5 separate regions of the Homo sapiens genome follow, and all the other regions are linked to region 4. Evidence: promoter capture Hi-C in human tissues and cell types (Jung and others, 2019). All regions are on one chromosome and are shown on one strand. Each heading gives the region's core, a stretch centred on a gene start or on the middle of the fragment in contact. The rest is flanking DNA. Distances are from core to core; before and after follow the strand shown. Region 1 holds the start of ZFYVE28 (zinc finger FYVE-type containing 28). Region 2 overlaps ZNF732 (zinc finger protein 732). Region 3 has its middle 67 kb from the start of ZNF732. Region 4 holds the start of UVSSA (UV stimulated scaffold protein A). Region 5 overlaps ZNF141 (zinc finger protein 141).

Region 1 (5,152 bases), core at 175-2,674, 1.1 Mb before region 4:
GTGTCACGGAGAGGGCACAGTCGGCTGGGTCACGTGGTAGTGACAGTTCAAGGAAGAGATGAGCGCTGACCCCGATCATCGGATTTTGCAACATCAAGGTCAAGGATGACTTTGATAAAGAGCTTCAGAGGAGTGGTTGGGTGAAAATCTGATGGGAGTAGTTTCCAGAAAGAACAAGTGGGAAGGAATTGGAGATAAGGGGAAACTCCAGAGGGGTTTTGCCCTTCAGAGGGTCGACTGGGTGGTAGGAAGAGGAGAGTAGGGAAAATCAATCAGTTACTCAAAAATAAACATGGACCCTACCCCCAACTAAGAGAAATCTTAGATGCCAGCGCGCCTAGGCTCACATCGCGTCTGTTGGAATAAAGTGGTCATGGAGCCCACGGACCTTTCTGAGCACCTGGCACTGGCCAGTGAGGACAAGCAGGAACAGGTCAGACTTCTCAATTCTGAACCGAGGGGGGCATGACTTCCATCTCCTGTGTCTTACATCTGCACGTTTCACAACAAGCCAGAGACGTGGTGGTGGTGCGGCAGGGAAAAGTGCAGCGCTGTGGGGTCAGGCCGACCCAGATCCGCCGTGATCTGGATGCAACCCCCACAGCCAGGGCACGCCGGCCTCGTTGTGCCTGCTTCTCTGGCTGTCAATGGGAAGTTTAAGTGAGGCCACGTGTGGGTTTTTAGCTCTCTGCTTGACACATAGCAGGTACTCAGATTGAGGTGAGCGTTTTAAGGTACAAATTAGGGCACCACTGGGGGGAGTAGCGAGGGCGGAAGAGTATCTTTTTAGAACGCACCGCTGATAGTGGTGATTTAAAAAAAAAAAAAGAGGCACCGTTCACTTTCATCGGGGAGCTGGGAAGAAGACAGAAGAGGTGTTTGGGAGAAGCAAGATGAGCAGCGAGCGAGAGGGAACCGGCCGGCAGGTCATGAAAATCGGCGGCGCGTCGCCCCGCACCTGTCCCGCCCCCGTACCTGGCGGGCGCTCGGGGCAGCCGAGCCCTCCTGCCGCCGCCACCTGCCACCGCAGCAGTTTCCTGGGCCAGCTGGGGCTAAGGTGTTGGCAGTCGTCGTCCGTCAGCTCCCGGTAGGCAGGACGCCGCGGCTGTTTGGCGTCGTCACCTAGCAACCGGCGGCACGCTCCGCCGCCATCGGGTGGACTACAACTCCCACAATACACAGCGCCGCGGCGCGGCCCGGGACGCCAAGCCCTGGGCGCCACCTCCCCGCCATGCCTTTCGGGACTTGTAGTTTCTTGGATACCCGGGCGCGGCGGGTCGCCCCGCCGGCAGGGAGCGCGCCTCGGGCGGGGTGCGGCGCCCGCGCAGGGATTGGGCCGCCTCCGCCCCGCCCGCCCCGCCCGCAGCGCGCGGTGGGCCCGGGGCTCGCGGCGCCCTAGGCGCATGTGCGGCGCGGGGCGGCCGTGACCAGCGGAGCGCTGGGTGTCAGTGAGCAGCGAGGAGCCGCGCGCCCCCGTGCCCGCGTCTGTCCGTGCGCCCGAGCGCCCACTCCCGGGTCTGAGGTCTGCCCGGCGCGCCGCTTGCAGAGCATACTCAGGGCCGCGCACCTGCCCCGCGCACCTGCCCGCCGCCCGCTCGGCGCTCCGGGCTTCGCTAGCCAGCCTCCCTGCGACAGCGCGGGGGCTCCGGCCGTGCCTCCGCGTCCGCCCCGCGCCTCAGCCGGGCCCGGGCGCAGCGCTGCGGAGGGCGAGGGCCGCCCGGAGTCCGGCCAGGGCCGGCGCGGCGATGATGAACAGGTTCCGAAAGTGGCTCTACAAACCCAAGGTGAGCGGCCCCGCTCGGGCCGGACGCCCCCCGCGTCGCGGCCTCTCCCTTCCCCAGGACCGCCCGTCCGCCCTACAAGACGGACTCCCTTTCCCTGTCCGTGGCCGGCCTCTTCCCCCACCGCCGACATCCTTCCCTCCACTCCAAGACTTGGACAGATCTTCATCGCCCTGTCTCTGAGGCGGATCCGAACCTCCCTCCCGGCTTCCTAAGCCCGGGTCCAGGACTGACCCTCCTGCTCCTCCTCTCGGGCCGGGGCGCACTTTCCCTCCCCCTCTATCCAGGGCCACAACGGGCCCCTCTCCCTCCTCATCCCGGTCCTGGACGGTGCCCTCCTACACTTCGTGGTCCCCAGCCCGCGGGCCCGGAGCAGACCCCCTACTACTTCTCCGTCTCCCCTCCCTGCACCAGGAATGCCCCCTCATTCCCGTCCTGCCCCCACCCCCATTGTCCTGGGCCCGGAATAGATCTCCCTCCGCACTCCAGAACAGACCCTCTCCCCACTTCCCCAGGTTCTGAGAGAACCCACATTTCCCAATCCCTGGGTCCAGGGCAGACCCGTCCTTCCATGTCCAGAGAGGATCCTGATGGCCCTGCCAACGGCCTCCCTTCCCGAACCAGGACTGACCCACACCTCGGCCCAGTTCGCGTCCCCTCCCTTGTCCCTATCCTTGTCCCTTCCCCACCCACGTCCTCTGGAATCCGGGACAGGTCCTCCGCCCGGCCCTTGGGGCGAGCGCGCCCGTGGCCAGCAGCCTCGGCGGGGCGGGAGGTGCGGCTCTCCAGCCGGCGCCCGCGCCTCTCCTAGCGCCGCGGGGTCGGGGTCCGGGCGGCGCGCCCCGTGCCTCAGCGGCTGCGCCAGTCGCACTGCGGGCGCTGCGTCCCCGCCGCCCGCCTGGGGCTCGTGCCCGCTGCAGCCGGAGCAGGGCCGGGCGCGCTCGGCGCGGGATGAAGGCGCGGCGGTGTTCAGGATCCCGGCGCAGGGTCCAGGGCGCATCTGGGCGTCCGAGGGTGGCACCCTGGGGCCGGCGCAGCGGGGAGGCCCGGGCCCTGAGATCTTGGGGGAGGTCACGGCTCGGGTGGGGTCACCGCGGCGACCAAGGGCGGGAGTGGGGCCAGCGCTTCGTCCGGGCAGCTCGGACGTCCGAGGCCACCGCGTTGCCGACCTACCCCTCCTCCCTCCACTGGCCGCCTTTCTCCGTCCAGCGTCCCAGGCCTCCGCCTCCACCGTGGGTGAGCTGTCACGGCAGAGGTTTCCTGAAATCCGTGCCTCGCGTGCGCCCATTCCAGGAAGGCGGGAGGTGGGTTTGGAAGATCGGCACGGAGGTTTGAGGGCTCACTCAGGGCCCCGAAGGGCGCGTGCTTCACGGCCTTTGAGGTCGGGGAATTCTGTTTGTCGTTGCCGGAGTGTTGGGTTGAGGGCTTACGGTACATGGGGCGCCCCTTGCTCGGCCTTGGCTTGATTGGGAGGGGACTCGGGGGGATTCAGGGTTCCTGTGGCGTCACTCCCTGCTCCCAACCTCCCTGTCCCTAGCAGCGACTTCTTAAGGGTTCGTCCCGAGCCTTGCGTTTCCTGGCGCTGGGTGTGGTTTGGGGCCGAGCCGTCTGCGCCCAGCCTCTCCTCCTGCGGCGCCTTCGAGCCCCTCTCGGTCCTGCCTGCTGCCCCCATGTGCCTCTGCCGGGGTAGGGCGGTGGCCTCCGCTCTGGATAGCTGTATGAATGGTGTTTGGTTCCAGTGACTTTTCCTCACCAGTTACTGAAAACCAAGTCTGCTTGTAAAACGGCGTTTTGGGGGCGTGCAGCAGCATTATTTTCTGTGACAAATGGCGGGAGGCAGCTGGAGAAATGTGTCTTAGGTCTTAACTAACATTCTGGTGTCGCTGAAGGCACTTGCTGGGACACTAGGGGATGCCCCTCCGGACGTGGCTGTGGAAGAGGCCGCATTTGGGGGATCACCCTTCTAATCGTGTTGAAAAGGAAGGAAAAATAATTGTAGACTCTGTTTCATGAGTAGCTGAGTAATTTCAGGATGGCCTTGTCTGTTTCCGTTTAGGGAAGACAGGTTAAAGGTAGAACATGGTACTAGACGTTGTCCTGAGAATTAGGAATTGCGTTCCCAACTTTTCCTCTTCAGCAGGCAGCTGCCTTTCCAGGCAGGCGGCGGGCACCAAGAGGGCACAGCCAGTGAATCAGCTGATCCCAGGGATCAGCCCAGAGCTGTGTGCCTCCGGAGAAGGGATGGAACAGGATTGATGTGGATCTCTCCTTTTTCTCGTTGTCTTCTCCTGGCATGCTGTCTGGTAGTAGCTCCAGAGCTCTGGACTTGAGACGTATCTCCATTTCAGATCTGTCTCTGGCCATAGCATTTTTCTGGGAGCTGGTGCCCTGTGGGCAGTCTGAACTTGGGCTGTCTCTTATTTGAGAAATGTCTTTGGAGTTAAATATCTTGATTGTTTGAAGGGTCGGAGTATGTTATGTCACTCCATAGCTTTTCATTTTTCAAACCAAAGCTCAGATTCTTGCCTTGGATTATGAATTGAATTTTATGCTTCCCCTTCCTGTCTAATTTAACACATTTTGGCACAAATAAGCACAAAGTCAGTCCTGGGAAGATTCTGGGCCTGGAAGAGTTGAAGTGTTAAACATTAGCTGTGGGAGGATGTGTCTGGGGGAGACTGTTGCCTGCAGTCAGGAATTTTTTTCCCACTTTGTATTTAGATAGATGTACAATTCAAACTGAATTTTTAATTGAATTCCTGCTTTGGTTTAAAACTGCACAGCGAGCTTCTTTTTATAAATTTTTAAGTGTGTGTGTGTGTGTGTGTGTGTGTGTAGAGACAGGGTCTCACTATGTTGCCCCGGCTGGACTCAAATTCCTGGCCTCAAGCAATCCTCCTGCCTCAGCCTCCCGAAGCACTGGGATTACAGGTGTGAGCCACTGTGCTTGGCCAGCACTGAGCTTCTTGTTCATCACAATATGGTGGAAAATATTCTGAAATGAAAATATTATTCACTGTTCTTATAGTTATAAAAAGCAATTGGAAATGCTGAAAAATATTCCTGTGTGACATACATTTTGATATCTGAATAAAAATTAGCTACTACGTTAGCTACCTAAGTTGAGTAAAAGAATGCCTGATGAATAATACAAAAGTTTAACATTAAAATGACATTTGCAAATTATATTTCTATTCACTTTCTTAATCAGTCTTTTAAACACCAATATGATTTTTCTTGGTATAAAGTGTTCAGATCTTGTAAGTATTATCCTGACTTTGAACACTCCCAGGAAGAGACGGTGCAGGAAAACCTGTCAGCTTGTCCTGCTTTATTGATGTTGGTGAAATACTTTCTTGCCTTTCTTTAAA
Region 2 (4,884 bases), core at 1,039-3,538, 1.1 Mb after region 4:
TGCTTTTTACAAACTGAGTAATATTTCATTATTTTAATAATTGAAATTATATTTCTCAATTTATTTAGTGAGAGAAATATGCGTTGCTGTTATTTGCTTTCAGGAACAGTGCTGCAATAATTATGAGTGTCTAAATTACTCTTCATGTGACCATGTGTGAGAGTTTATATTTTTGCCAGATTTTATTTAGTTGATCTAGCTGTTCAGCTTTATACCTATCCCAGATTGCTTTAATTCTTTAGATTTGTATGTGTTTTGAAATCAGGAGCTGTGAAGCCTCTGAGATTGCTTCTGTTTTTGAAGATTGTTGGGTACTTCACTGTTTCTTAATTCCATATAATATGGGAATTGTTGTTTCTATTACTACAATAATTTAATTAAATTTGACAGGGATTGCATTTAATCTGTAGATTATATTGAGCAGTCTAGATATTCTCATTATTTCAAACTTTGAACAAGAGCATGCTTAAGTGTGTGTTGTTTAATTTCTATAAATATGTAAATTTTTTAGTTTTCTTTATTTCTACTCTCATTCCAGTTTGGTCATTAAAAGTAATCTGTAAAATTTCAATTTTAAAACTTTAAGACTTTTTTTGTGCCCTGACATGTAGTCTATCAAGGAGAATATTGTATGAGGTATTGAGAAGGGTGTGTATTTAGTTGTTGCTGAGCAGTGTTCTCTACAGTTCTGTTAGGCGTAATAGTTTAATACTGGTTTCAAGTCTCCTGTTTCCTTATGAATATTTTATCTTGTTTCATTATTCCTTACAGAAACTGGGGTATTTAAATATCCTACTATAGTTATATTGCTGTCTTTGTCTTAATTCTGTGAGTATTGGCTTTGTATATTTGGAACTCAATGTGGGGGAGACACACACACATATTAACGTATGTATAGACATGTTTGTCATTAGTTCCCAGTAAATGAACCTTTATTATTATTATTGTTTAATGTCCTTCTTTCTTATGACTTTTTAAAGTATATTTTATGAAATAGGACAGTTTTGACTTAAGATGTACTTTGTATTACATAATTTGGACCTCTTATTTGGTTATTTGCATGAAATCTCTTCTTTCATTTTGCCTTTTTCAGTCTTTTTAAATCATTACATCTCAAGTGACTCCTGTAGAAAAGCAAGTTGGATCTTGTTTTTTAATTTTTGCAGTCAATCCCCTTATTTGGTGCATGTATTTTGAATGGAAACTTTACTTCATAAATATTTGAATAATTTGCTGAAATAGACTTACTCATCTTATTGTTTTACTGGATTATTTTATCTTTGTCCCTTATTTTCTTTTTCTGTCTTCCTTAGTCTTTTTTATTTTTGTATTGATACACCTTTAATTCTTATTTTTTGGTGTATCTATACAGATACTTTTTTTCTGGTATCTTGAGAATTACATAAAATTTCTTTAAGTTAAAATAATATATTTTAAACTGGTAAAAACTTAACTTCCATTGAATTTGAAAATTCCTCCTCATTACATCTGCCCTCAACTTCATTATTGATGTCAGTAATCATATTGTTGTTGTGTATTATTACCAGATTATGATGAACAGTTTATGATCATTTTTATGCTTTCCTCTTTAAAATTTTAGAGAATAATTACAATATTTTCTGTAATATGATAGTGGTACAGAACTTTGTGGATGTGCATATCTTTTTCAGAAAGCTATATATTTTCATATGATTATGTTTGGCTTTCTTACATTATGTTATTTTCACTGGAAGATACTTTCTTGAGCATTTTTTTGGTAAGACGTGTTGTGCTAATATACTTTTTCAGCATTTGGTTATCTTGAAAGGTCTTTATTCTTTCTTCATTTTTAGGACAGTTTTGCTGGTTATATGATTCCCACATAGAAGTTTTTTTTTTTTTTCCTAGCACCTTAACAATATCCCAATTCTTTCTGTTGCGAAATAGTTTTGTTGACAGATTCACTGGTAATCTTTTAAGACCACAGTTATAAATGACACATCACTTTTATTTTGCAGCTCCTAAGATGTCGTTTTTGAGTTTGATTTTTGAAACTTTGCTTATATATGTGCTTTGCTGTAAATCTGTGTGTGTAACCTTGTTGAAGTTTGTTGAGCTTCTTCCGTTTTTATATCCTTTTTTAACTTGAAAATTTCTGTCTTTATTTTGCATTTTTCACCTTCATGATTTGTTTTTTGTTTTTAATGTTTTCATTGATGTTCTCATTTTTCTGATTACATTTAGTTGTACGTGTTTCCATTTAGCTGATTCAGCATTATTCAGGTTACATTTTAAAAATTTGTACATCTTTGTTTTTATGGTTGTTTTCTGAAAAATTTTAAATTGTTTAATTAGACCATGTTCTAATATTTTGTATACATTATAATATTTGCTTGTTATTTGAACATTAACCAAAAGCTATTTATCACAACCTTTACAATGTTGTTTTCTCCTGACATAGTCTGAAGCCAGTTGTCTTTGATACGGATTATAGTAACCTCTCATACATGTTGGAAGGATGTGTCTTGTCTAGAATTTTGTGTTTATTTTTTAGTTAAAAGGGTTTGTTCATGTTTCCTCTTAAGAGTCTTTAATCACTTGGTCTGTTGTCTGTATTTAGCACTTCAGTCTGCTCTTGAAACATGTACATTTGGTCTTAGCAGACCCAACCTGTCCTTCCTAAGTATATCACCATTTCTTTCAGCACTCTTTGTTATTGGAGGCAGAAACCAGTTTTTGTAAAGATCCCCAAAAGCCAGAAGTAAGGATACGTGTCAGTATTTTTCTTTTCTTTTAAGTAAGAAGACAGGAGTTGACAGTTTACTTCTAATGGCACAGTGCTATATTGGGGAGGAGGAAGAACTGTGGTTGGTAAATGTAACAAACTTTGTATCCTGTTCTATGTGGCTCTTGGCATTGTGCTTACCTGAGGCATTGCATGTAACTCATTTATAAATTTCACTAAAAGGCATTTTGATCAGTATATGTTTGTTACATATATATGTCTGTGAAGAAATTATGGCCTGTGGTATTTTGTTATGCCATCTTACTAATGTACTTTGTATAAGTTTATATATTAGATTTTTAAAGTATATTCGTATGAATCTAGTAAGCAGGATAATTTATTTTTATTTCTTTCAGCTGTGTGTTCTCATTTCACCCAAGACTTTTTGCCAGTGCAGGGGATAGAAGATTCGTTCCACAAACTTATATTAAGAAGATATGAGAAATGTGGACATGAGAATTTAGAATTAAGAAAAAGCTGTAAAAGGAAGGTGCAGAAAGGAGGTTATAATGAATTTAATCAATGCTTGTCAACTATCCAGAGCAAAATATTTCAGTGTAATGTACATGTCAAAGTATTTAGTACATTTTCAAATTCAAACCAACGTAGGATAAGACATACTGGAGAGAAACACTTTAAAGAATGTGGCAAGTCATTTCAGAAGTTCTCAGACCTAACTCAACATCAAGGAATTCATGCTGGAGAGAAACCCTACACATGTGAAGAATGTGGCAAAGACTTTAAATGGTATTTAATCTTTAATGAATATGAGATAATTCATACTGGAGAGAAACCCTTCACATGTGAAGAATGTGGCAACATCTTTACCACATCCTCAAACTTTGCTAAACATAAAGTTCATACTGGAGAGAAATCTTACAAATATGAAGAATGTGGCAAAGCCTTTAATAGGTCCTCAACCCTTACTAAGCATAAGAGAATTCATGCTGAAGAGAAACCCTTCACATGTGAAGAATGTGGCAAAATCATTACCTCATCCTCAAATGTTGCCAAACATAAGAAAATTCATACCGGAGAGAAACTCTACAAATGTCAGGAATGTGGCAAAGTCTTTAATAGGTCCACAACCCTTACTAAACATAACAGAATTCATACTGGAGAGAAACCCTACACATGTGAAGAATGTGGCAAAGCCTTTAGTAGGTCCTCAGTTCTGAATGAACATAAGAGAATTCATACTGGAGAGAAGCCCTACAAATGTGAACAATGTGGCAAAGCCTTTAGACAATCCGCAACCCTTAATAAACATAAGAGTATTCATACTGGAGAGAAACCCTACACATGTGAAGAATGTGGAAAAGCCTTTAGTCGGTTCACAACCCTTAATGAACATAAGAGAATTCATACTGGAGAGAGGCCCCACAAATGTGAAGAGTGTGGCAAAGCCTTTGGATGGTCCACAGACCTGAATAAACATAAGATAATTCATACTGGAGAGAAACCTTACAAATGTGAAGAGTGTGGCAAAGCCTTTGGATGGTCTGCATACCTGAGTAAACATAAGAAAATTCATACTGGAGAGAAACCTTATAGATGTGAAGAGTGTGGCAAAGCCTTTTTATGTTCCAGAGCCCTGAATAAACATAAGACAATTCATACTGGAGAGAAACCTTACGAATGTGAAGAGTGTGGCAAAGCCTTTGGATGGTCCACATACCTGAGTAAACATAAGAAAATTCATACTGGAGAGAAACCTTATAGATGTGAAGAGTGTGGCAAAGCATTTAGACGTTCCAGAGTCCTGAATAAATATAAGACAATTCATACTGGAGATAAAACCCCCAAATGTAAAGGATGTGGCAAAGCCTTTAAGTGGTCCTCATACCTTAATCAACATAATAAAATTTATACTGGAGAGAAACTCTAGAAATATGAAGAATGTGGCAAAGCCTTTGGATGATCCACAAACCTGAATGAACATAAGAAAATTTATACTGGAAATAAACTATACAAATGTGAAGAATGTGGCAAAGCTTTTGGATGGTCCACAACCCTGAATGAAAGTAAGAATTCATACTGGAGAAAAACCCTACAAATGTAAAGAATGTGGGAAAGCCTTCAAACAGTCCGCATACCTGAATCAACATAAGAAAATTGAT
Region 3 (5,209 bases), core at 2,223-4,722, 1.1 Mb after region 4:
CAGTCTTTAAAAATCACCTTCAAGTAAGAAAAGTGTTTCTCTCACAGAATAACATAATAAAATAATAGATGGTAATTTTACACTGACTACTCACCCACACAAGAAAACAATGATGAACACCCAAGTAAATAAATACTTTATTTATTTATTTATTTTTTTGAGATGGAGTCTTGCTCTGTCACCCAGGCTGGAGTGCAGTGGTGCGATCTCGGCTCACTGCAAGCTCCACCTCCCGGGTTCACGCCATTCTCCCGCCTCAGCCTCCTGAGTAGCTGGGACTACAGGCAACCACCACCACGCCTGGCCCAATTTTGTTTTTGTATTTTTAGTAGAAATGGGGTTTCCCCATGTTAGCCAGGATGGTCTCGATCTCCTGACCTTGTGATCCGCCCGCCTCGGCCTCCGAAAGTGCTGGGATTACAGGCGTGAGCCACTGTGCCTGGCTGATAAATAATTTATAAACAACGTAGGGGCAATATATATACAGGCAAATACCACATAGATAACTTTCTTGGCAAGAGAAATGTCTGATTTATATATATGTTTTTTAATTTGCTCGAAGTGAAACCCAATGATATTTATTTGAATTAAACACCACATGGTCATAAGAGGTAGAGAGGTTGTTGTTGTTGTTGTTGTTTTGAGACATTGTTTCACACTTGTTGCCCAGGCTGGTGGGCAATGTTGCAATCTTGGCTCACTGAAACCTCCGCCTCCTGGGTTCAAGTGATTCTCCTGCCTCAGCCTCCCAAGTAGCTGGGATTACAGGCATGCGTCACTACGCCTGGCTAATTTTGTGTTTTTAGTAGAGACAGGGTTTCTCCACATTGGTCAGGCTGGTCTTGAACTCCTGGCCTTATGATCTGCCCGCCTTGAGTTCCCAAAGTGCTGGGATTACAGGCATGAGACACTGCCCCTGGCCAAGGTACAGGGTTTAAAGTTACCATACAAATATAAAGATTAAAAACAAACCACTAAAATGGGGTTGAAAACAAGAATAAAAATTTCTGACCTTTAAAATATTGAATATCATATAGATGTATCATAAAAACAATCCTTTACAGTTTTCAACTGTGACTATGTACTTATGAAGAGCTGGCATTTTGAATCTTTGGCATTCAAGGTACAGCAATAAAAGAAAATAATCTCAATAATTAATAAAATGCTCTGATGAGAATGAGGCATTTCAATACATTTACTTATTCCACAATTTGAAAATTTAAGCATTTTATTTCAGACATTTTGAATTTGAAATAAAAAATATTTGACACAGAACAATCAAAGTAAAACATACAAGGGGAGTGACATAGCAAGATGGCAGAATAGGAGGTTCTCTACCTAAATCTTATATGGTTATAAAAAAATGCAGCAGTTATGCCCTGGCAAATGAACCTTTATAGGAACTTTGGAATCCATGTCAAAAGGTGTAAACCCAAGACAGGAGGGCTGTATTGAGAGGGCATGCCCTTGCTTGAGTGGCATGCTTGCCCATCATAGTCCCAGCTACAAAATAAAATATGATTAATTCTCATTGTAAGTATAGCTGTAGGCCATTTGGTTTTGTTTATGCCACTAGCACCATCTGCCAAGACACCAAGGAGGATTCATAATGTCCTGTGTCTCAGGTGAAAGGACTTTAGATGTTGCTCCTCTCTGTAGTCTCCTAATTAGCCCCTTGCACACATCTATCATGATGTGGAAGAAATCCTGCACATGCAGGAACCGACAGAAACATCCATCTGTGCCCCTGGATGTAGGCTTGCCGATATTTATTTAATGGTGGATCTTGATGTGGCACTATCATCTGGCTCCCAGTCCATGAAACCAAAGTCCAGAAGCAGTTTTTCCTAACCTGGGACCTGCCAAAAAACACACCTATATGTGCCCCTGTAGGCATGCTGGCTGACTTTATTCCCACTGTGAATCTTGAAGCAGTCCTAAAACCCAGCTCCAGTCCCAAAACCTACCTCCAGTCCCAAAACCTACCTCCAGTCCCTGTCAACTAAAGTCTGGGAGCAGTCCTGCCCACCCAGGAATCTGGAGGGAGAAATGCCGTGAACCCAGAAACAAACCTGAAGACTTTGGTCTCAGCTGTGTATCCTGAAGCAGCCCTATGAATCAGTTCCACACCCTCTCAGCTGTGACCAAGGGTCAGTACTTCTCATCTAGGAATCTGTCCAATGACTGGGTTAGAAGATTTCTAAAAACCCAGCAAGAGCCACACAGCAGAAGCCATACCTGCTCACATGGATTATATCAGCTCTGTCATCTGCATATACAACTGGAGACTTTTTTTTCTCAGCACCAGTCTTACTGATCAAGATCCTGAAGAAAGTTCAGTCTTCCTAGAAAATAGACAGAATCCACAACAGTCTGATGCCCTAATAACAGGTCTGCCAAGCATGAACTTCACTGTGATCCAGATCCAATGCACCTTACTGCAAACTCACTGGAAATCTCATCAGCACAGAGATCCAATAGGAGAAAATATTTACCACCCCAAACTAATCTATAATGACTGCAAGAGATATTTACTCCTTCAGATGCAAGGACATAAAAACAAGGCATCACAGACCATGAAAGATCAGGCAAATGTAACACCACCAAAAGAAACTAAAAATTCTCTAGTAACCACTTACAGTAAAACACAGATCTAAAAAATGGCTAAGAATTCAAAATAATTATCTTAAAGAATCTCAATGAGATGCAAAAAAACCACACATTACTAAATTTTTTTTGCAACAACGTATGAACAGAATCACAATTATAATAAAGAGAAACCATTAAAACAGAACCAGTTAGATATGCTGGAGCTGAAGTACACAATAGGAGATCTAAAATATTTAAGAGAAAGCTTTAACAGGAGACTCCGTTATACAGGAAAAAAAAAATCAGCAAATGTAAAAGTTATTTGAAAGTTCCTAGTTAGAATTTAAAAAAAGAATGCGAGTGAATAAAGCATTTGTCCCCCATATTTCATAATCAATGGTAAGGATGTACAATTTTAGGAGGTTCATGAGAAAGAAAAAAATTTTTAAATTGTTTAAAGATATAATGTCTTAAATTCTTCCCAATCTTGGAAGGAATATAGATATTAAATTTAAAAGCTCAAAATGTCTATAGCAAGAAGAATCTAACAGAAATTGTCCAGAACACATTATAATTAAACTGCCAAAATTCAAAGACAAACAAAAAAGAAAAAAAAAAGAAAGAATGAGTAATACCCAGTATGAGTATAATAATTTAGTTGCACATTTTAAAATAACTAAAAGAGCATAATTGGATTGTTTATAACCCAAATTATAAATGCTTGAGGGGATGGATATACCCCATTTTTGATTATGTGATTGTTACACATTACATGCCTGGATCAAGACATCTCATGTGCCACACAAATATATACATGTCCTACATACTCACAAAAATTAAAATTAAAAAAAGAAAACCCTTTACCTGGGGTTTGCCTGCAAAACCTAAAATAAAGAGTAAAAAGTAAAAAAAAAAAAAAAAAAGCAAGAGAAAAGAGATTCTTCACATTCAAGGGAACTCCTATAAGGTTATCAGCAGATTGCCCAGCAAAAACCATGCAAGCCACACAGGAGTGAAACCATATATTTAAAATGCAAATGAAGGAAGAAAAAGAAAAAACCTTGACAACTAAGAAGACGATACCTGACAGAGCTGTTCTTTAGAAATGAAGTATCAAAATCTTCTCAGATTAAAAAAAAGTTGAAAGTTTTAATCACTAGACCTGACTTACAACAAATGCTAATGAGAATTTAAGTTGTAATGGAATCCAAACTTACAACAAAATTATAAATCTTACTGAAAATCATATATACATAGTCGAATTTAGAAGGCTATAAAACTAATTATGGTGAATGAATTAATCACATTTAACTCTGGTATAAAAGCTACAAGAAAAAATTATTAAGACTACATATAGCTTCAATAATTTGTTAAAGGGTATACGATATAAAAAGATGTAGAGTGTGACATAAATACTATGTTGAAGGGAGTAAAATTGTTTAATTTTTCTATACATAGAAGCTAACTTTTGCTTGAGGCCAGGAGTTCAAAACTAGTCTGGTCAATATAGCAGGACCCTGTCTCTTAAATAAGTACATAAATAAAATTAAATAAAGATCTCAGAAAGCTATTTAGTCTTTTAAAAAAAGAAGCAGCTGGGCCTGATGGCTCATGCCTGTAATACTAGCACTTTGGGAGTCCAAGGCAGGTGGACTGCTTGAGCCCGGGAGTTCAACACCAGCCTGAGCAACTTGGCAAAACCCTGTCTCTACAAAAAATACTAAAAAAATTAGCCAGACATGGTGGCATGTGCTTGTAGTCCCAGCTACTTGGGAGGCTGAGGATTGCTTGAGCCTGGGGAGGTCAAGTCTGCACTGAGCTATGAATGTACCACTGCACTACACTGGGTAACAAAGCAAGACCCTATCTATACAAACCAAAAGCTAAATTCTTATCTGAAATTAGATTTTATAACTATGAGATGTTTTACATAAGCTTCCTGGAAATTACAAAAAAAACTGTAGTGGTTACACACAAAAGAAAAAGAATGCATATAACAACAAAAACAACAAAAATTCAAGAAAATACAGGGGAAGACAGCATGAAACAATGAAAAAACAAACTACTAAATGGTCAGAAAACAGTAAGAAAATGGCAGTAAGTTCTTATCAATCAGTAATTCATTTAAATATATAAAGATTTAGTTATCCAATAAAAACACATTGCTATAGTTTGAGCGTCCCCTCCAAAATTCATGTTAAAATTTAACTGACATTGTGAGAAAATTAAGAAATGAGGCCCTTAAGAGTTATTAGGTCATGAGCACTCTACTGTCATGAAAGGATTAGTATCAGTATTACCACAGTGTATTAGTCATCATGAGAGTGGGTCTATTATAAAAGTGAGCACTGGTGTACACCTTCTGTCATCCTCAACCCTTTGGTCATGTTGTGATGTGGAAATGTGATTCTCATCAGATGGGAATGACATGCTCTTGGACTTCTTGGCATCCAGGAGTCTGAGCTAAGTAAATTCTATTCTTTATGAATTACGAACTCTGGGATATTCTGTTATTGAAGCAAAAAAAAAAAAAAAAAAAAGGAAACATTCACAAAATGTCTGAATAGATTTAAAAAGTCAACAATATGCTGTGCACAAGAGACTTATTTTAGGTTTAAGG
Region 4 (4,551 bases), core at 93-2,592:
ACTCGCCCATCAGCAAGCTCTATTCTTTCCCTTCGAAAAGTCCAGCAGCAAAGAAAAAGATGCACGTTTCTCTCTGAATCACATTTGTGCACTCAAGAACTCCTACAGGATGTGCTCCAGACCACACAAATGGGAATGAAGAGAAGCACCAACCACAGAGCAGTGGGGTCCCCAACGCCACACGCCCCGACCCCAGAACATGACCACCCGTCAGAGCCGGGTACTGCAGGGCCCCGAGAAAATGTCCTGGGTGTGTCCCTCGGGTGGTTCTCTCCCAGGTGGGGGCAGGAGGGCAGGGCCCTGTGTGTGTCCTGGGCTCAGTGGGCCAGTCAGTTACTGTTACTGAACCCTAAGACATACTTGCAAATTTTCTTCAGTTCCTTCATTTTCTCAGGATTTAGTCGGGGTTCTCCTGAAGTTGTGAGCTCTTCTACCAACTTCGAAAGTTTCTGATCCATATCTAGAAATAAGTAAGGCAGAGATGCTATATCACCATCTGTATTTTATAGCTCTCGGTGTTATTAACGTGTTTACTGGGTTCCACTATAAACCGAAAGCTCCGGGAGGACCCTGAGGCTGGGGTCCATCTGTGGGTGCCTCTCTGGGAAATATGTGTGTCCAGCAAGGCCTTTACGGCGGTGATTGCAGTTTTAAAAGTGAACCTTAAACTCGGGACCTCTACAATCCCGTGTGTGGGACGCTGCATTGAGGGTCGTGCGTTAAAGGAACCAGTGGCGCTGTCCGAATCAGCTTTTCCCCAACGTGACTGTTGCTGTTTCCCTTATTCACTCAGATTCCGCAGGGCAGCCTCCAGCAAGGCTGCAGAGGCCAAGAGGAGCCAAGAAATTCTGAGACCAATGAAAAGTCGCGTCCGGAGAGCAGGGGCGGCCCTAACGGAGGCAGCCTGCCCGGATACCCAGGGCCGAGCACCGCGGCGTGCCTGGTGGGATGAGGCGAGGGCCTGCCGCACCGCCAGGGAAAGGCCGAAGGACCCGGAAGGAAGCGCCAGGCGAGGCCGGGGCGGAGGCTGGGAAGCTGCGCCCTACTCGGGGAAAGAAGGGGCCCGGCAGGGCCACGCGAGGCTTGGACCGCGGGGTCGCTCTCGCACAGCGGCTGCACCGGGCGGGCGCGCCGGCTTCGACGGTGCTCGGGGGGCTGCGGCCTGTCACTCGGCCCAGGGCCCGCCCTCCGGCCCCGCCGCCGGCGCTCTCGGGCACACGGGACACGCCCTGGCCGCAGGTCTCTGCCCGGCGCCCGCAGAGCCCCGGGGACCGAACCGGCGCGACCCCCGCCCGGCAGCGTAACCACAGCCCCACCTACCGCTGACGCGGCCGCTCGCCTCGCCCCGCCCCTTCCGGCGGGGGGACCGCCCCTCTTGTCAGGTGCCCAAGACCTCTACCGCCATTGGCTGGCCCTGGGCCGGACGCATCAGGACCTGGGGTCACCACAGCGACGACTGCACCTACCGCTCGACGCGGCCTTTCTCGCCGTTGCCCCACCCTTTCCGGTCAAGGCCCCGCCCCCTAGCACGTGCCCTGAGCTCGACAGCCAATGGCTCACCCCAGCCCAGGAGGCGCAGGCGCAAAGACGCGGCCGAGGTCTGCGCGGTGACGTAGGCGCGCTCCCGGCGAGGGCGAGGCAGGCTGCCGGGGGTGGGGAGGGGGACGCACGAGAAAAAAGAGGCGGGAGGGCGCAGAAAGTCCTTAAAGGGGCCGCATGTACGGGCGCCGGGGGCGGGGCCGGCCGGGAAACTGAGGCCGAAAGGAAGTTCCGGTCTGGGCCTCAACGCCACGCCCGCCCGCGGGCTCGCAGCCAGGTCCCTTCACCTGCAGAGGGCCGGTGAGGACCGCCCAGACGGGCGGGCGCGGGCCCCCGCCCCCGAGCTCGCCCCGCGCAGGGCGCCCTGAACCCCGCGGCGCCTCCCCGCTCCGGCCTCGGGAAGGGAATCCCTGGGCGGGCTTGGGGGTCTTCGGGGCCCACCTCGGCGCCAGACGCACAGCAGGTACCCCTGGGCCCGGGCTGGCCCTGGGCGGAATGAGAAGCAGAGGCGCCGTCCGTCCTGCCGCCGAAGTCCGCAGCCTCGAACGCAGGGGAGTGCGAGGTCGGCTGCGGACGGACGGACCTGGAGACCGCGCTTGGGAAACCGTGGCTTCGGAGGAGCGTGGTGTGGACCCCACTCGCGGGGCGCCCGGCACAGGCCACGCAGAGCAGACGCCCGACTGGGCTCCCGGGGCTGGGTGCAGGGCGGGGGCCGCCGGCGGCGGGCCGGGGTTTCTTTTTCGGGGGGATGGGCGTGCCCTTGCATTACGGTGGTGGTAGCTCACAACTCTGTTAATCGTGTTTTTACAGGGTGGGTTTCAGGATGTGTGAGTTATATCTCAGTAAAGCAATTATTTTAAAAAGGAAAAGAAGAGGGACTCCCTGCGCCGCCCCTCTCTGCAGCACCAGCTTCTGTCCCTGGGCGTCAGTGGCTCCCAGCTCCTAGCTTGCAGCCAGCCCCGAGCCGCTCCTCCGCCTCACCCCTTCCTCACCCTGCCTCTTGCTTCACTGAGCAAGCTGCAGCCAGACCCTCCCTCAGCGCCCCTTGCCCTGTGCATCCAATCCCCGGCCTGTGGCTTCCTCCAAGGCACCCATCCAGCAGTTTCCCTCTGTCTTCTACAGCGTGGTTTTTTTTGTTGTTACTAGTTCTCATTAGTATAAAAGGGTGCCGTTTCTCCCATACTAACAAAACCCTCTCTTTATCCAACTTTTCTTACCAATTGCTAAGTCCAGTCTCCTTTACACTGCCCCGGGGTGTCCTCTCAGCCCTCAGGCTCAACAGCACAGCCAAGCTGCCCGTCCACTGCCCTCTGTATCCGCTGATGGCCCTGCAGCCTTTTTTTTTTTTTTTTTTTTTTTTTTTTTTGAGACAAAGTCTCGCTTTGTCACCCAGGCTGGAGTGCAGTGGCACGATCGCGGTTCACTGCAGCCTCCGCCTCCCGGGTTCAAACGATTCTCCTGCCTCAGCCTCCCGAGTAGCTGGGATGACAGTCACCCGCCACCACGCCCAGCTCATTTTTGAATTTTTAGTAGAGACGGGGTTTCACCATGTTGGTCAGGCTGGTCTCGAACTCCTGACTTCAGGTGATCCGCCCGCCTCGGCCTCCCAAAGTGCTGGGATTACAGGCGTGAGCCACCGTGCCTGGGCCACCGTGCCTGGGCCTGCCCTGCATCCTTCTGTTCGCTTGGACCAATTATCTGACTCACTTGGGCTTCTCTCTTCCTCTCACTCCATGCCCATTTGGTTTGCAAATCCTGACAGCCCTACCTTCAGAACACATCCAGATCTGAGCACGTCCCACTGCCTCATTGCCACTGCCAATTCCTGGCCACCCCTGCAGCAGGTCACTGCCGTCACCTTGTCTTTCCCTTGCACCCTGGTACCCCTAGACCATCATGCAGCAACCAGAGGGACCTTTGAAAGTCTAAGGTCGGATCACAGGATTCCTCTACACAAAATCCTCCGACGGCTCCCATCCCAGGGCAAGGCAAAACCTGTCGTGGCCTGTGTTTGCTGCCCCCTGCATCCCACCGGTTGACTTCTCCAGCCTGCTCTTGCTGCCACACGGCCTCTGGGGAGCGGATCCCTCTGCCGGGAAGCTTCTGCCAGTATCCACAGAGTTCCTTGCCTCCTTCCAGCCACTGCTCATGTCTCACCCTGAGCAAATACTTCTGCACCCGCTCACCTCCCTGGCTCAACACCCCCCATCCGTTTTCTAAACCTGCCGTGCTTGTTCCCAGGGCACTTCTGGCCCTTGTGTCACACAGACTTACTGTCTTACTAGGTGATTCGCTTTTTTCTCTTCACTCCTAAAACATACAGTCCCTGAAAATAGGGATCTTTGTTTCATGAAGCCAGACAAAAAGCAGGTGCTCAATATTTGTTGAATGCTGGATAAGATTAGAAAGCCAAGATAAATCATGATGAGAGTTAGACGATATTCTTGTTTGTTTTTGTTTGAGACAGAGTCTTGCTCTGTCGCCCAGGCTGGAGTGCAGTGGTGTGATCTCGGCTCACTGCAACCTCTGCCTCCCAGGTTCAAATGATTCTCGTGTCTTGGCCTCCCAAATAGCTGGGATTACAGGCGCCCACCACCACGCCCAGCTAATTTTTGTATTTTTAGTAGAAACAGGGTTTCACCATATTGGCCAGGCTGGTCTCGAACTCCTGGCCTCAAGTGATCTGCCCACCTCAGCCTCCGAAAGTGTTGGGATTACAGGCATGAGCCACTGCACCAAGCCAAGAATTAGAAGATACTTCTAAAAGATATTTTAAAAGAACCAATGGAAACTTAGAGATGATAAAACCCAAGCAGGATAAACAAAGAAAACCACCCAAGGCACATCTTAAATTGCAGAAAACTAGTGACAAATCTTAGAAGCAGTCAGATTAAACAAGGCGTATGACATACAGGCACAAAGAAGCCAAGGATTTCTTGTCCCCTCCTCCCCCTCCACCCAAAAAAAAAAGCCAGAAGAAAATGGAACATCTTTAAGGTGGTAAAAGAAAAA
Region 5 (4,942 bases), core at 1,075-3,574, 1.0 Mb after region 4:
TTTTTAGTAGAGACGGGGTTTCACCATATTAGCCAGGATGGTCTTGATCTCCTGACCTTGTGATCCGCCCTCCTCGGCCTCCCACAGTGCTGGGATTACAGGCGTGAGCCACTGCGCCCAGCCGAAGGGACATAGTTCTTAATTTGACTACAGGTGAAATGAGTTGAGAGCGCTAGTTCTGACATGTGACTGACTGGGATTATCTGATAAAATAACTTTCAACGCAGTAATATTCTCTAAAGTATTCTATAGCTCTGCAGAAAAAGGATGGCATTCCAAGAGTTTCTGTTGCTGCAATAAAAATAATGGGCTACACTGACCTTCCCCTACCAAAATCAAGCAGAGTAGGCCCTGTGACCTCCTGGAACAAAGGGTGAACTCACCTTTCACTAAAGTATCTGGAAGCCCTCATGCTTCACCCTGGCCTTGCTGTAGAATCATGCAAGGAACTGATTTTAAAACATAAGGACTTTTTTAATCATGCAAGGAACTTTTTAAATACTTTTTTAATCATGCAAGGAACTTTTTTAATACTTTTTTAATCATGCAAGGAACTTTTTTAATACTTTTTTAACCACGCAAGGAACTGATTTTAAAAAATAAGGTCTCAGCCTTGGATCAGGAGATAATTGAAGTAGATCCTGACACTAAGGAAATGCTGAAGCTTTTGGACTTCGGCAGTCTGTTCAACCTTCAGGTCACTCAGCCTACAGTTGGGATGAATTTCAAAATGCCTCGGGGACCTGTTTGAATTTTTTCTGTAGTGCTGTATTATTTTCAATAAATCTGGGACAACAACAATCAAAAATAAAATAAATAAGGACTTTTCACCCAGAACAATGGACAGGATCTGTGGGCAGAACACAGCTGATGGTTTCTCTTCAAACTGTCCATGTGATCCTACTGGAAGACTGGGCTGAGAGTCACTTAGCTAAGCACTGCCTCTCAAGCTTCATTGTACATATACATTATTTGATATTGTAGGCCTCACTGTAAGTAACAAAATTCTGCAGGTTTGAAAAGGGTCCATGAATTAGCTTTTTACAGCAAGTCTCCTGTTAATGCTGACGCTCCTCCCTCTAGACCCATTATAGTACCACTCAGTTAGAGAAAGCAGACACAGCACACAGAGTCCCTTACCCCAACACCGTTATCACAACACAAATACTTTTCATCCCAAGACCACCAATCATCATCTTCAAACATGGCATTCTCTGCAGACCCTATAAGGTTACAGAAGTTGGAGACGGTGGCAATGTCTGAGTAAGTCTGTATCTGAAAAACAACATGTGCATCTGCATTAATGCCATCTTTATGGGGCATGTAATATGTGCTCAGATGTATGTCACAGAGCACTGTGATGGGAAGCTCATATTATGTGTGTTAATTCTCATAACATCCTGGGAGGTAGACACTAGGTGTCCCATACTTCCCAGATTTAAAGGCAGGGCCCAGAATTTCCATTTCCTTTCTGTTTCCCCTGACTTTTTAAAAAAATGTATAGAATAATAGCTAAATATAAATAGATGGGAGAGAGCCAAAGAAAGTGTTAAGTACAATTCAGAGGAATTTTTTTATTTTTGTGTTTGTATTTACTTTGAGACTTGTAAGAAAAAGCCACTGAAACTGCAGGGATAGAGAACAGGTTGCTGGGTGGGATGTCTCTAGAAACATTAGTTTTAATTTTATAGAAAAGATTTAAGGCCCCAAAGTATATAGCTTTTCCCTATTTATTGGCTTTTGGGTTTCAGAAAATTGTGGGCACCAGCTCTGGAGAGGAGACTGGAGTAGCCACCCTAAACTCTGATCTCCTCTATTAATCAGTTCTGTGAGAGATTTCAGTGTTGGCTCAGACCTGGACAAGGATCAGAAGAGGGTAGATCTGGGCAGGGATGGGACAGAAAGTGGGCCCTAGGCTTCTGCTCTCTATGTCACTAAGTACTTTCGGTTTTGTCTTTTCTAAGCCTGCCCAAGAGAAATTTGATTCCCAGAATTTGTGAAATTTTAATCTATTTTAGCCACTTCTCTGTCTTTTGTATAACATACAGTAACAAGGAATTTAACCAAAACCCTTATGTTTCTCTAGAACAATTATATTAGAAGCTAAATATTTATTCTTAGCAAGGTAAACACAATACAAATAATAACAACTTCTCTTCTGTCAATGAATAGCCATTCACATAATGGCATCAAAACTCACAAAACAGGCTGGGCACGGTGGCTCACGCCTGTAATCTCAGCACTTTGGGAGGCTGAGGCGGGTGGATCACAAGGTCAGGAGTTCAAGACCAGCCTGGCCAATATGGTGAAACCCCATCTCTACTACAAAATATAAAAAATCCGCCGGGCATGGTGGCGTGCGCCTGTAATCCCAGCTACTCGGAGGCAGGAGAATTGCTTGAACCTGGGAGGCGGAGGTTGCAGTGAGCCGAGATCGCACCACTGCACCCCAGCCTGGCGACAGAGCGAGATTCTGTCTCAAAAAAAAAAAAAAGAAAAATGTTTTTTTGACCTAAAAGGAAAAAGGTGGGGTAAACATAATATAAGAAGAGAGTTTATTTGGGCCAAAGCTTGAAGATTGCAACCCTGGACTATAAAGCTGCCCTGAATATACACTCCAATTAGAAGCAGTTACAAGTATATTTTTAAAGGCAAAAAGAAAGGCAGACGGAACTGATAGAAAGCTGTCAGAAATTCTTATTGGTTTATAGAAGTAACATTGGTTAGTGATTGGCTATGTACGTTGTTAAGCTATAAGGTGTGGGTTATAGTGTCCAGTATGGCATTATTAGGTTAATTTATATCCACTTGTGGCAATAGCAAACAACTTCAAAAGACAAACAGTTCAAAGAGGGGAACGGTAGGACTGTGGTCTCATTTTAACACATCACTTGGTCTCGTAATTAAAAGAACTTGTATTTCTCAAACAAAAGTTCTGTTCTTCTCTCAAATCCCAGGACATAAACTCAGAATTTGGAACTGCACATTTAAGACTTGGAGGGCTGGTAAGCACATTTGTGGGCATTTGGGCAAGGGGAGAAGGGAGAGAATGGAAGTTCTCAGGTTTAATCAATGCACATGTGTGAACCTCGCTGGATTTATGGGCCCCATGATTTCTGAATCAGTGTCAGATCTGAAGATCATTGGCACACTGAAAGAGGTGGAAAAACTGATCGCTATCCTAAAAAGTCATTTTTGTAGAAATCTAGTCAAACTGCTATAGAAGGGATTGTAGATCCCAAATAGAGAGATCATTTTGTTTGCAGCTTTGGGGAGCACTTTGCTGCACTTCGTGCACTTTGCTGCACAACTGTGGGTTGTGACTGGAATCCTGAGAAAGAAGGTTCTTCTCTAAAACGAAGCCTGGTGGGCACTTTGTGTATAACATCTAGTAATTCTTGACAGCGTGTGGAAAATATAACAGCAAAATCATCTACAATCCTAAAATACTGTCCAAAATAATAGAACAGCAAGAAAATGTGTTGTTAGAGAATTAAACAAAATGTGGTGTGCATTACAGGCAGTCTACTAAGAGACTGCCAAAACAAAGAAAGTCACCATAATTAGCTCTCAAGTAGAAGACTTGACAGTACCATGTATCATACATAGTTTATTACACTTTCACCTAGTAATTTGGGAGGTCATCCGGGTTTCCTAATTGGTAATATTCAAAGGGAAAATAAACTTCCCACAGCTTCAGGACAGGAGGTAGATTTGATATGTGAAGGCAGGTACCTGCTGAAGGCAGCCTCCTACTCTGCTACAGAAATTGCGGAATAGGTTATATATTCTTGCTATGCACATTTCAAAGCAATAGTTTCCATGTCCTAAAGACAATTTTGAGTCAAAAAAGACAAATCACCTAGTTAACAGATTAAAATGAGTTATATATATTTCAAAGAAGCAGAGAAAATATTTAAATATAAAAGTTTTCAAACTAAATGCTTTAAGGGAGAAGAGTAAAAATTCTTTCCTCATTCTAAAGAGAAAGCATTAAGCCTCTTCTGATTTGTATTTGGTCCTACAACAGGCAGGTCTAAAGGCATGGTCTTGAACTCACTAACGTTGAATTCTTGTAGCACATGAGGGATGCACTTGAGCAAACTGTGTGCACAGGAAAGAGGATTTGTGGGGAAGAAAAGAGCAGAAGAAAGGTGCTATCAAGAGCCTTGAGTGGGGGCAAGGCAGGATTGACGAAAGGACTGGTTTGTGCTACAAGTTCAGGCCCAGGCAGGGCTAAGCTCTAACTGATTCCTGAGCCCATAAAGGCAGAGGAGATTAGGATCAGGTGGTCCAAAAGCCTGGGTGGGTGAAGAAAACAGATTCCTGCTACAGATCTGGGGTTAAAATGAACCAGGAGTCTTCTGGGCACTGTGTGTGTTCTTGGGAGAAAAACCTAGGAGCAAAGCTGCCATGGGCACAATTCCTGAGGGTAGAACCCTGTCCTGGGACAAGTGTGGCCGTGCGAATGCCCAATGGGCGGGCTCAGGAGTGGGTTAGCATTGGGTGGGGGCTGGCAGCAGGGTGCAGGGAAGGGATGTTTCTCAGAACTCCTTTCCTCCAAGTTCTCAGCGCCCTCTCTCCCCGGGAGGAGACCTGGAGGAACAGAACAGTGCGCAGCAGGACAGTGCATGTGCAGAACCCGGCTGGTCTCCCGCGGACACCTGCGACTCCCTCCAGCCCAGGCTCAGCCATGTCTTTCTTCTGACAGGAAACGTGAGGAGTTTGCTCAACACCAGTCAATGCTCCGACCCCAACGGGCTGTCCAACAACTCACTAACGACACCACCCGGAGTCAGCACAGACCCCACAAGCTCAGCGCTCTTCCCGCAGCTGCCCCCCTGCAGACGCCAGTCCCTGCCTCTGGACACCCGTCTTCATTTCTGAACACCTGTCTACAAACCAGGGGCCCACACCCTCCTCAAGTTCAATAATATGACAG

The links. The method cuts DNA at HindIII sites, captures the fragments that hold promoters and counts their contacts. A contact is called where the count stands out against the background at its distance.
Region 1: the fragment with the promoter of ZFYVE28 here is called in contact with the fragment with the promoter of UVSSA in region 4 in 1 of the 25 tissues and cell types used here (mesenchymal stem cells).
Region 2: a contact is called between a fragment that was not itself captured here and the fragment with the promoter of UVSSA in region 4, in 1 of the 25 tissues and cell types used here (lymphoblastoid cells).
Region 3: a fragment that was not itself captured here is called in contact with the fragment with the promoter of UVSSA in region 4 in 1 of the 25 tissues and cell types used here (lymphoblastoid cells).
Region 5: a fragment that was not itself captured here is called in contact with the fragment with the promoter of UVSSA in region 4 in 1 of the 25 tissues and cell types used here (lymphoblastoid cells).

What each region holds. Positions count from the first base shown.
Region 1 is chr4:2,414,917-2,420,068 of GRCh38, reverse strand. It overlaps ZFYVE28 (zinc finger FYVE-type containing 28), which reads left to right and starts at 1,424. Exons shown (of 13, transcript NM_020972.3): 1 at 1,424-1,784. The coding sequence starts at 1,746. CFAP99 (cilia and flagella associated protein 99) reads right to left here and starts at 1,114. Exons shown (of 16, transcript NM_001193282.4): 1 at 976-1,114. RefSeq lists silencers at 900-949, 1,190-1,419, 1,540-1,699 and enhancers at 2,705-3,263, 3,264-3,822. The HindIII fragment of the contact is 18,624 bases long and covers 1-5,152 here.
Region 2 is chr4:270,867-275,750 of GRCh38, reverse strand. It overlaps ZNF732 (zinc finger protein 732), which reads left to right. Exons shown (of 4, transcript NM_001137608.3): 4 at 3,121-4,884. The coding sequence ends at 4,652. Among named protein-coding and RNA genes, the nearest start is that of ZNF732, 32 kb to the left of the region's middle. The HindIII fragment of the contact is 6,139 bases long and covers 1-4,884 here.
Region 3 is chr4:235,936-241,144 of GRCh38, reverse strand. It overlaps the pseudogene ZNF876P. Among named protein-coding and RNA genes, the nearest start is that of ZNF732, 67 kb to the left of the region's middle. The HindIII fragment of the contact is 5,262 bases long and covers 842-5,209 here.
Region 4 is chr4:1,343,999-1,348,549 of GRCh38, reverse strand. UVSSA (UV stimulated scaffold protein A) reads right to left here and starts at 1,342. Exons shown (of 14, transcript NM_020894.4): 1 at 790-1,342; 2 at 361-460. The coding sequence starts at 458. RefSeq lists enhancers at 654-733, 2,579-3,101, 3,102-3,625 and silencers at 964-1,403, 1,644-1,973, 2,194-2,283. The HindIII fragment of the contact is 13,201 bases long and covers 1-4,551 here.
Region 5 is chr4:338,625-343,566 of GRCh38, reverse strand. The region is part of intron 1 of ZNF141 (zinc finger protein 141); the gene reads right to left. Among named protein-coding and RNA genes, the nearest start is that of ZNF141, 3.3 kb to the right of the region's middle. The HindIII fragment of the contact is 3,033 bases long and covers 808-3,840 here.